3 separate regions of the Homo sapiens genome follow, and regions 2 and 3 are each linked to region 1. Evidence: promoter capture Hi-C in human tissues and cell types (Jung and others, 2019). All regions are on one chromosome and are shown on one strand. Each heading gives the region's core, a stretch centred on a gene start or on the middle of the fragment in contact. The rest is flanking DNA. Distances are from core to core; before and after follow the strand shown. Region 1 holds the start of JAKMIP1 (janus kinase and microtubule interacting protein 1). Region 2 overlaps JAKMIP1 (janus kinase and microtubule interacting protein 1). Region 3 has its middle 4.6 kb from the start of WFS1.

Region 1 (3,580 bases), core at 801-3,300:
CTCACTTCTGTAAGCTAGAAGTCTGAAATCAGGTGTCAGCTGGTCCACGCTCCCTATGAAGCCCTGGGGAAGGATCTGTCCCAGGCCGCTCTCATGGCTTCCGGGGGTTTGCTCCCATCTTTGGCATTTCCTTGGCTAGCTGATGCCTCGACCTGATCTCTACCTTCATGTTCACACGGCATGCTCCCGTTGCTTGTGTCTCTGTATCCAATTTCCCCCTTTTATAAGGATAGAAGGCAGACTGGATTAGGAATCCAACCTACTCCATTGTGACCTCATCTTAGCTAATTACATCTACAACGACCCTATTTCCAAGTAAGGTCATATTCTGAGGTCCTGGGAGTGAGCACTTCAACATACGAGTTTTTTTTTTTGAGGGGGTGGGTGGGGGGAACACAATTCATCCCAGGATACCTGGGCATTGTCCCTGATTGTCCCTCCCTCCCTCCTGTCCACGTCCAAGCCGTGAGCATGTCCTGCCAATTCTGCACCCAGATTGCTCTGATGCGCTGATACTTCACTGTATCAGCGTGGAGGAGGCCCCCACACTGCCTCCTTGTCCCCACTCTTGACTACTTCAGCCCATGCCCCAAGGGCAGCCAGGGCATCTGCTAAAGATAGTCTCACATCTGCTCACAGATATCCTAGTTCCTCCTGACCCCCTGAACCTTAGAGGTCTGCACTTCCTCCTCTTCTGAAGTTAGGCATGGCCATGTGACCTGCTCTGGCCAATGAAACGTGAGCAGAAGTGACGAGAGTCCCTTCGGGGAGGAAGCCTTCAAAGCCAGCATAATTGTCACCTTTCATTCACATTGCTGCACCATGTGGGTGCTCGGCTGGCAGACAGCCCCAGCAGCTTGGGCTCCCAACCACTCTGATGAACAGAGCCCCATTGACCGAGGCAGGATGTATGATGTGGGCAAGACACACCAGGGAGATTTGGGTTTGGTTGTTACTGTGGCTAACATAGCTTATCCTGACTGATGCACTTTAAAAAATATCAATCTGACAATGGTCCATGGGACCACCTTCCAGGTGAGACAGTCTCCAAACTCTCGCCAGCCTGCAAGACCTTGCAAGTGCTGCCCCTCTGTGCCCCCGCCCCCCATCTTCCACACACTCCCTCTCACCATTCTGTGGCCCAGATACTTTTATCAGATTCTCAAATATGTCCCGTTCACAGCAGTCAGGGTGTTCCCCCATGCTGCTCCCTTTGGTGGGTGCTCTTCCCTGCCTTCTCCTTGCTAGAAAGTAAGCTCTGGTGGGCAGCCGCTTCCTCTCTGCTGTTCACTGTGGTGTCCCCACATCTTAGTGACTACCTGGCACACAGCAAGTGCTCAATAAATATTTGTCTAATGACACTGAATGAATGTTTGCCCAGCTGAGTCCTGCCCCTCCCAAGTCTCAGCTCGACAGCACATCTTTCATTTGGCTATGACCTGCTGATGTGGCTTTGCTGGGGGCAGCCTGGGCTGGTGGGGGGAGGCTCCCTAGGCTGGCATCCGCCCAGCTCTGCCGCTTGCTGGCTCTGCCGCCGTTAGCGTGCGCTTTAACCTCTGACCTTCAGACCTCTCATGCGTACAGAGGGGGACATGGATCTCCGGGGTCGCTGCGTCTTCCTGACCACTGACGGCCAGGACGGCCCCAGCCCCGCTTTACCTGCAAGCCCCACTCCAGGCTCGAGCCCCCGAGGGCAGGGATAGCTTCCCGGGTCCCGAGGCTTGACCAGAGCCTGAAAGCTCCTGCCGGGGGTTGCTCCGACTCAGCGAGGCGCCAGGCTGCCCGGCGCGGCTGGGGGCGCTCAGCGCCGGGACCCCAGCCCTGCCCCGGCCGCCCGCTGGCCCAGTGCGCACGCTCCGGCAGCTCAGCTCCCCCTCCCACGGCGGCAGGAGAGCTCCCGGCATCTGCCCGGGGCGGGGGCGGGGGCGGGGCGGGGCGGGCGCCGCGCCCTCCTGCCTGACTGGCAGGAAGACAGACCAATCGGAGGGGCTCCCCGGGGGGAGGGGCGGTGCCGTGCCTGAGCCGGGCGCGGGCGACCGAGGGAGCTGCAGCCACCCGCGTGCGGCACGCGCCGGCCGCCTGCCCGGATCGCGGCCACCAGTGCCGCGGCCTCTCGACTCCCGCCCCGCCGAGCCGCGCGCGCGACTGCCATCCTCCTCAATTGCTTTTTACGATTTTTTTTGTGCATGCATTCATTTTCTGTTCCGTTTTGTCCTTTTTAAGGCGGTGGCGGCGGCGACAGCGGCGTAAGCTCGCAGCGGGGAGGGGGCGGCCGGAGGATGCGGCGCGGGGCTGCGCTCGCTACGTCCGCTGCTGCTGCCCGGCTCGGGCCTGAGCGCCGAGCAGGTGGGTACAGGTGCGCCGGGGGGCGGGAGGCGAGCGCTGGCCAGAGGGAACCCGTGGACCCGGCGACCGAGGGGCGGACCTGGCGGCAAGGGACGCGGCGACCGGTGCCGCCCCGCCCCATCGTCCATCTCCCCCTCCTCCGGCCATCGCGCCCCCTCTGGGTCCCCCTTCCACTCTCGCATCCCACCTCAGTGGTCCCCCACCCTTCCATACCCATCCCCCACTCCTCTTCAGACCCCCTTGCAAAATCTCCCAGCCGCTGCGTCGCTTCCCCCAACACCCCCTCCCGGTCCCGCCCCCAGCCCCCAGCTCTCCTTCACGCCACCCCTATTTCCACTCTTCTCCGGATTCCGCCCTCAAGCCAAGGAGCGGGAGGGGGACCCACCCGGTGCCTGCCGGAGTGGCGCGGGGGGTGTGGCCGGCCCGTCCCCTCCGTGTCTTCCGCAGGGTAGGTCACAGTCCCCCAGATCTCCGCCCAGGTGGCAAAGAAGATGGAGCTGGGGGCCGCGCCCCGGCGGCGCGGGGCCCGAAGGCGAGGCCGCCCAGCCCGCACCCCACCCCACGCACGGCACACGCCGCCGCGGCCCCTGCCACGCACACCCTCGCGCTGCTCCGCCCACGTGGGCGCCGGGGAGGAGGCTCGAGAGATGGGAAGAAAGGCTGGCACCCACCCTCCTGCCGGGCCGGCGCGCCCTGGGCGCACTGGCCTCCGGAGATGGCGCGCAAGGATTGACTCTCGTGGTGCCAGACACCTTGCCGGGCGCCCTGCGTCGGGGCCAGCGGCCTCGCTGGCCTGCGTCAGTGCGCTGCGGCCTCGCCTCCCAGCCCCTCGGTCCTTCGCTCCATCCCCCCTGCTGTGGGCTCCTGAGCATCCGGCCTGGGCAGCCCAGATAGAGGCCGCTTACGAGGCTGGCGCTTCTTTTCGCCTTAGAAGCATCCCGCTCCCACACACCCCAGCTCGCCGGTCTCCTGAAGGCTGGGCCAGCCTCGGCTCTCCGCCAGCCTCTGCCCGGCTCTCTGAGCTCCAGCGATACTGTATCTAACCGCCAGCCCTCCTCCGCCGCCCGCCCCATCTGCGCACACTCGCAGGCACACTGTCCTTGGCCTTTGCCAGTGCTGTGCTCTCTCCGCGAACGCCCTAACTTCAGCTGGCCAGCTCCTTGTAGTCAGGGAGATCCCCTTGCCCCTCCTGAGCTTTCCTGGAACGTGGCGCTGTCCCAGGATGCTGTTACCA
Region 2 (3,580 bases), core at 298-2,797, 120 kb after region 1:
TGCTGCTGAGCTGGGTCAGGGTCAGGCAGTGCTGACTTTGGGACTCACCAAGCTCACCCTGGTGTGCACATTCCCGCTTCATTCTGCCACTAAGCAGCCTTGGCTTAAATGAGATCACTGGTACTTGGGGACAGTTTCCATGGCTACCCTTTTCTCACATCTTCTCCCTAGCTTGCTGTGATTGAGAAGCATCAGTTTTAAGGATGTCTTTTGGCCTTTAGAGACTGGGCATGATCTGTTCCAGAGAAGGCTTTTTGTTTGTTTGGTTGGTTGGTTGGTTGGTTTTTAGCTTAGCAGTTGCAGACTGTGAGTTTAGGCCCACAAACTTGAACCTTATAACCAGACCAGCACCTTGCTAAGACTGCCTGTGTGAGTTTTGGACGTGTATATGGGGCGTGCATCTATCAAAGGGGGTTGAGTATGTCCTAAGCGGTGGAGAATTGCATCCAGAGAATTCCACAGCTCTCTGTGAAAGGAACTTCGGCAACAGGCAGAGAACACCTGCAGGGAGCTTTAGTTGGATCTTAGAAGTAGAACGTGTTCTGCTCACCAAAGTGGGTGTGTGATGGTTCCATGCACTGGTTTTCAAAGAATAGAAAAGCTAGTGATCAAAATTCTAGAAAAGGCTTTGATTATAATTTTCATGTTCATTTTGCCTGCCTCCATCTCCCTCTACCTCTTTAACTTCTCTCTTTCTTCCTTTCACCCATCCATCCATCCATCCATCCACCCACCCATCTGTCCACCCATCCATCCATCCACTCACCCATTCTTTCATCCTTCCATCCACTTATCTATGCATACATCTATCTATCCATCCATCTTTGCTTCATTACACAAAAGACTCAATGCAGCTTAGGATGAAAAATATATTTCAGTGAAATAACAATAAAGTCAAAAGGTGGATAATAAACTCTCCCTGTAGCTCTCAGTTCAGAGAAGCAGCCATCACTTGGGCACTTAGAACTTCAACTAGCCATGCCTGGTGCGGATGGGCAGGCCCAGCTCCCTTTGAGAGCCAGTGGCTTTGGTTTGTGAGATGTGAGGCTGGCTGGAAATGCCAACCGTTGTGTTTCCTTCTAGGAGAGAGAACGGCTGTTGCGCTCCAAAAGGCATCGAGGGAAAAGTCTGAAACCGCCCAAGGTGAGCCTGCGATGGTGCACCTGCCCTACCTTGCCGCTGTGTCACGGATCTGCAGGGCAGATGGGTCGTGGAGTGGGGAGGTTTTACAGAGGGGTCCTGAAGCAGACACACACATCTCTGCATGCCTGATGATGAAAAGCCTGTCATCACCGTCTCTCAAAGCAACATAAATATGGCCGTGTCATGTGACCCAGTTATTGTAATTTATTCATGGAAAACTTCCTGATGTATTCTCCACTTAGGCTTCAGGGTATATTCACCCAAAATTAAAAACATAAATACTTAAACCTTTTGAAGGATTTAAGGGACATTCAGGGTTGGTTTATATGAGAGCATATCCTGTTCTAAAAAAATCAGGAGCTTTGTGTTTTTTTGGAATCATGCAGAACTGTAGTCTTTTTTGGAAAATATAGGTCTTTTGCTATTTCCTAGTAACAGTGTCTGAAGGAGCTGGGCTTATAAAATTCAAATGCCCACAGGGACCAATCTGGAATGTAAAGAGCGCACTGGAGCTGATACCAAAAAAAAAAAAAAAAGCATAGTTTGCCTTTAAACCTGTAAACCTATTTTTGGCTCCCACAAAGACACAGTTCTCCTCTCCATTTTTTTTTTGTTTTTTTTTTTTAGACAGAGTCTCACTCTGTTGTCCAGGCTGGAGTGCAGTGACACCATCTCGGCTCACTGCAAACTCCACCACCCAGGTTTAAATGATTCTCCTGCCTCAGCCTCCCGAGTAGCTGGGACTACAGGCACATGCCACCACGCCCGGCTAAATTTTGTATTTTTAGTAGCGGCAGGGTTTCACCATTTTGGCTAGGCTGGTCTTCTCTCCTTTTTATTGAACACAAGTGCCCCGTTTGGTTTATCTTTTGATGGAGATGTGGTTATAGAGAAATATTTCTCATCTATAAGGGAAACAGCTGTGCAAATGTGATAGTGAATGGCCAAAGACATGTGGTCTTGGTGTCAGGGTGACAACAGGGAATGGTGGGGACTGTGGCAAACTGGGCCCTGAATCCTGGTTGCTATAAGAAGGTGGACCGATGGCATCAGATAGTCCAGTTTTTCAAGGGAAATATAAATCCTTGTATGTTAGCTTCCTAGGGCTGCCTTAACAAAGTACCACAAAATCAGTGGCTTAGAGCCACCGAAAAAGACCGGGCACAGTGGCTCATGCCTGTAATTCCAGCACTTTGAAAGGCCAGGGTGGGTGGATCGCTTGAGCCCAGGAGTTTGAGATCAGCCTGGGCAACATAGCAAGACCCTGTCTCTACAAAAAATTAAAAAAATTAGCTGGATGTGGTGGCACCTGAAGTCCCAGCTACTTTGGAGGCTGAAGCAGGAGGACTGCTTGAGCCCAGGAGGTCAAGGCTGTAGTGAGTCATGATTTTGCCACTGAGCTCCAGCCTCAGTGACAGAGCAAGACCCTGTCTCAAAAAAAAAAAAAAAAAAAAAAGGAAAGGAAATGTATTATCTTACAGTTCTAGAGGCCAGAATGCTGAAATTAAGGTGTCGGTAGAGCCACGTTCCCTCCCTCTAAAACCCGTAGCAGACCCCTCCTTTCCTCTTCCTAGCTTAGAGTGGTTTCCCAGCAATCTTTGGTGTCCTTGGTTTGCAGCTTGAACTCCAATCTCTGCCTTCATTGTCAGTGACATTCTACCTGTGTGTCTCTGTGGCTTCACATATAAAGCCACCACTCATGCTGGATTAGGAGTCCACCCTACTCCAACGTGACCTCATGATAATTTAACTACATCTGCAATGATCCTATTTCCAAATAAGTCACATTCTGAGGTACTGGGATTAGGACCTCGACCTATCTTTTTGGGGGGATACAGTTTAATCCATAACACCTTACTTTATATGAAATTGAAGGATTTAAATGCTGGATTTTAAATGTCTGTAATTTTATATGTCCAAATACAGGTTGAACATCCGTAATCCAAAATCCAAAAATCCGAAATCCAAAATGCTCCAAAATCTGAAACTTTCTCAGCACCAACATGAGGCCAGGGAAATTTCACACCTGGCCTCATGTGACAGGTTGCAGTAAAAACACTATCAAAACTTTGATTCATGCACAAAATTATTTAAAATATTATATACAATTCCCTTCAGGCTATGTATTATATATAAAGTGTATATGAAACAAATGAATTTCATGTTTAGACTTGGGTCCCATCCCCAAGATACCTTATTCTGTTTATGCAAATATTCCAAAATCTGAAAAAACATCCAAAATTCCTTCTGGTTCCAAGTATTTCAGATAAAGGACACTCAGCCTGTAAAATATATACCTGTGGGCCACATAAAATATATCTATGGGTGCAATTTGGCTCCCAGGCTGCCTCCTGGTGGCCTTTACTGCAGCGTTCAGGTAATGCCACTTAGAGTGGCCTGGCTCATTGGTGATTTGCTAGGTCCTGGATTCTCAGAT
Region 3 (3,580 bases), core at 500-2,999, 65 kb before region 1:
CAGCAGACATTTGAAAAATGGCAAATTACTATTGATAAGGAAGAACGCATGATGGAAAGCATTCACGGGAAGAGTGGTATTATGTAAGGGTGCCAGGCACAATCCACAAAGATTTCATTGTCATGAATCTGAATGAGCCAGAAAATCTAGTAGCCACACACTTAAAGCAGTAACTGCTAGAAATACTAGAACTTATTAAAACACAACTCTGGTGGGAGAAAGAGCCAGCTGTTCAATGCTATCTTTTCTAGGACACCTGTCCTCATTCCCCCAAGAGCTGAGCTCTGCATGTTGCTGCTGAGTATTGAATGAATGAATGGATGGATGGATGGATGAATCACCTATGCAAGGACTTCATATAAGCTCTTTCTTGCCCATAGGACAGTGTCCAAACTCTTTAACCTGACATCCAAATATACCCCCCACAATTCAGTCCTTTGATGTCTGCCCATGATTTTCAGACTCTGCATTCAAGTTCTTGGCCCACTTCCTTCCCTACACCTATTTAAAACCTACTTCCATTTACTCAACAAACATTTAGTGACTTTTGGCCAGGCGTGGTGGCTCACACCTGTAATCCTAGCCCTTTGGGAGGCCGAGGTGGGTGGATCACTTGAGGTCAGCAGTTCGAGACCAGCCTGGCCAACATGGAGAAACCCCATCTCTACTAAAAATACAAAAAAATTAGCCGGGCGTCATGGCACATGCCTGTAATCCCAGCTACACAGGAGGCTGAGGCAGGAGAATCGCTTGATCCCAGGAACTGGAGGTTGCAGTGAGCAGAGATCATGCCACTGCACTCCAGCCTGGGCGACAGAGTAAAACTCTGTCTCAAAAATAATAAGAATAATAATAAAATAAATAAAAATTAAAAAATATAAACATTTAGTGACATCCTGCCTGTTCCAGGCATTGGACTACATGCCAAGTATTCAAAGAAAATGAGGACAGAGGCTTGGTGAGTTGTCATTTGAAAGACAGCAGAGTGTGGCGGTTTACAGGCTATTGGTGTACAAGGCCCCCAAAGAGATCACTTCCTGGAGCCTGTGAATGGTACCTTATTTAGAAAAGGGTTTTTGCAGATGTGATTAAGGATTTTGAGAAGGGGCCATTAGCCTGGCTTATCTCCTTGCAGGAGAGAGGCAGACAGAGATTTGACCACACACGGAGAAGTTGATGTGGACATAGAGCAGAGAGAGATTCCAAGACGCTGGCATTGAAGATAGGAATTATGTGGCCACAAGTCAAGGAATGCAGGCAGTCCCTGGAATCTGGAAGAGCAGGGAACAGATTCTCCTTGATTTTTGCCCAGTGACACTGATTTCAGACTTCCGGCCTTCATAACTGTGGCAGAATCCATTTCTGTGGTTTAAGCTACTGAGTGTGGCAATGAGTTTTTAGCCCACTGGGTTAATGAGATAAGAACAACATGGGCCAGGCATGGTGGCTCACGCCTGTGATCCCAGCACTTTGGGAGGCCTGGAGGTGGGGGGTGGATCACCTGAGGTCGGGAGTTTGAGACCAGCCTGACCAACATGGTGAAACCCCGTCTCTACTAAAAATACAAAATTAGCCGGGCTTGATGGCGCATGCCCGTAATCCCAGCTACTCGGGAAGCTGAGGTTGCGGTGAGCCAAGATCACACCATTGCACTCTAGCCTGGGCAACAAGAGCGAAACTCCATCACACACAAAAAACAACAACAAAAAAACAACATGTGCGGCTGGTTGGGCATGGTAGCGCACACCTGTCATCCCAGCACTTTGGGAGGCCAAGCCAGGGGGATTGCTTGGGCCCAGAAGTTCAAGACCAGCCTAGGCAACATGGCAAAAACCCATCTCCACAAAAAAATTTAAAAATCAGCCAGACGTGGTGGCATGTGCCCATAGTCCCAGCTACTCAGGAAGCTGAAATGGGAGGATTGCTTGAACTGGGGAGTTTGAGGCTGCAGTGAGCCAAGATTGCACCACTGCACTCCAGCCTGGGCATCAGAGTGAGACCCTGTCTCAAAAGAAGAGAAGAGAAGAGAAGAGAAAAGAAAAGAAAAAGTAAAAGAGATAAGGAAAGAAAAAGTAAAAGAGATAAGAATAGAAAAGAACAGAACATGTTTGGGCATGTCGGCCACACATTGGACTTCTAGCACAGCGAAACCCTAGGACTAGCCTTGTCAGCATCCCTGGGAGCCAGGCCCAGGAATCTGCATTTTAACAGGTTCCTGGGGGGTTTGTGAGACATAGGAACATTTGAGACCCATGAGTATAAAGCAGTGTGGTTCATAGTGTGATGGGTCCACCAGACCAGCAACATCAGCATCCAGCATTCCTCAGTCACCTGGACGCCTGTTACGAATGCAGAATCCCGCGCCAACCATGGACCTCCTCAGTCAGAATTTGCATTTTAATAAGATGCCCTTGGGATTTGCATGCACATTAAGGTTGGAGCCAGTGGTGGCATATGCCTGTAGTCCCAGGTACTCGGGAGGCTTGGGCAGGAGGATTGCTTGAGCCCAGGAGTTCAAGACCACCCTGGATGACATAGTGAGACCCTGTTTCTAAATAAATAAATAAAGCAAGCTAGAGAAGCCATGCTGCAAGCTGGAGGTGCTTAGCTCAGGCTATGCACATAGCGCCACCTGGAGAGCTTGTCCTGCCCAGGCCAGCTGGACCAGAAGTCTGCATTCTATGGGGAGTCCTGGATAGGGGTGCAGCAGAGGAACCGCATGGGTGCCTTTGCAATTTAGCAAGGTCTGGAGCTCACTCAGGCCATGTGCCCCATCCACTGCCTCTTTCCTGAGGCCATCCCACCAGGCCTTGACCACATCTAAGGTAGGAAGCTCTCTTTGCTGCTATACCCCGACAGATCTTCCTAACACAATGTGACACACGGGGCAGCCTCCCTCACTGTCCGAGGGTCTGAGGGTATGGAAGCTTCCCAGGATCACACACCCTGCAGCTGCTGGGCCGTAGAGCCTCTGGGCTCCCACCCCCCTCCTTCGTCCTCTCCCACTTCCCTGCTCATATCCCACCCTGGGCCCACCACTCCTCCCTCCTTCCCAGTGTTCCCTTTATAAACCTGAGTTCCCTGCCCACTCTACAGTCTCCTTGGAATCACAGCCCAAGTGGCTGGAGTTGTGGCTGGTGGGGGTGTCGTGGGGGGCTCGGTGCTGGTCACACGGCTCTGTGTCACCAGGGCTGGTGCCACATCAGAGGCCTACGCCTGCCAGCACCTCCACACACACCCCCGTGCACACACCCACCTGCCACACACACACACTGCATTGTCGCCGGGTAGTTCTGAGCCCTCCCATGGGTCTGAGTGGTGATGTGCTCATCTCTGAAGGCAGAGAGCGAACGCCACTTCACAGCCCACAGACGAGTCACCAAGTGCACTGGGAAGTTTCATTTGGGGAATTAAAAAAAAAAAAAAGCCAGGATGCAAAAGCAACTTTGAGGCAGAAGAAGGAAAATGCCCGTGTGGGGAGAGACGCTGTTCCCAGGCCTGCCTGTGTCCCAGTCATGCCCCTACATCACTGAGCAGTGCCAGCTGAGATCCCCCACCTCCCCCAGCCCTCACCTTCGAA

Evidence for each region. Contacts are between HindIII fragments. The study calls those that stand out against the background at their distance.
Region 2: a fragment that was not itself captured here is called in contact with the fragment with the promoter of JAKMIP1 in region 1 in 3 of the 25 tissues and cell types used here (dorsolateral prefrontal cortex, mesendoderm cells and thymus).
Region 3: a contact is called between a fragment that was not itself captured here and the fragment with the promoter of JAKMIP1 in region 1, in 2 of the 25 tissues and cell types used here (pancreas and thymus).

The regions. Positions count from the first base shown.
Region 1 is chr4:6,199,019-6,202,598 of GRCh38, reverse strand. JAKMIP1 (janus kinase and microtubule interacting protein 1) reads left to right here and starts at 2,050. Exons shown (of 21, transcript NM_001099433.2): 1 at 2,050-2,346. JAKMIP1-DT (JAKMIP1 divergent transcript) reads right to left here and starts at 1,866. Exons shown (of 4, transcript NR_037863.1): 1 at 1,660-1,866. RefSeq lists enhancers at 483-532, 3,485-3,574 and silencers at 1,635-2,394, 2,665-3,014. The HindIII fragment of the contact is 28,205 bases long and covers 1-3,580 here.
Region 2 is chr4:6,076,502-6,080,081 of GRCh38, reverse strand. It overlaps JAKMIP1 (janus kinase and microtubule interacting protein 1), which reads left to right. Exons shown (of 21, transcript NM_001099433.2): 8 at 1,084-1,143. Among named protein-coding and RNA genes, the nearest start is that of C4orf50, 60 kb to the right of the region's middle. The HindIII fragment of the contact is 8,055 bases long and covers 1-3,580 here.
Region 3 is chr4:6,263,416-6,266,995 of GRCh38, reverse strand. No RefSeq gene overlaps it. Among named protein-coding and RNA genes, the nearest start is that of WFS1, 4.6 kb to the left of the region's middle. RefSeq lists enhancers at 1,364-2,563, 3,352-3,580. The HindIII fragment of the contact is 5,964 bases long and covers 1-3,580 here.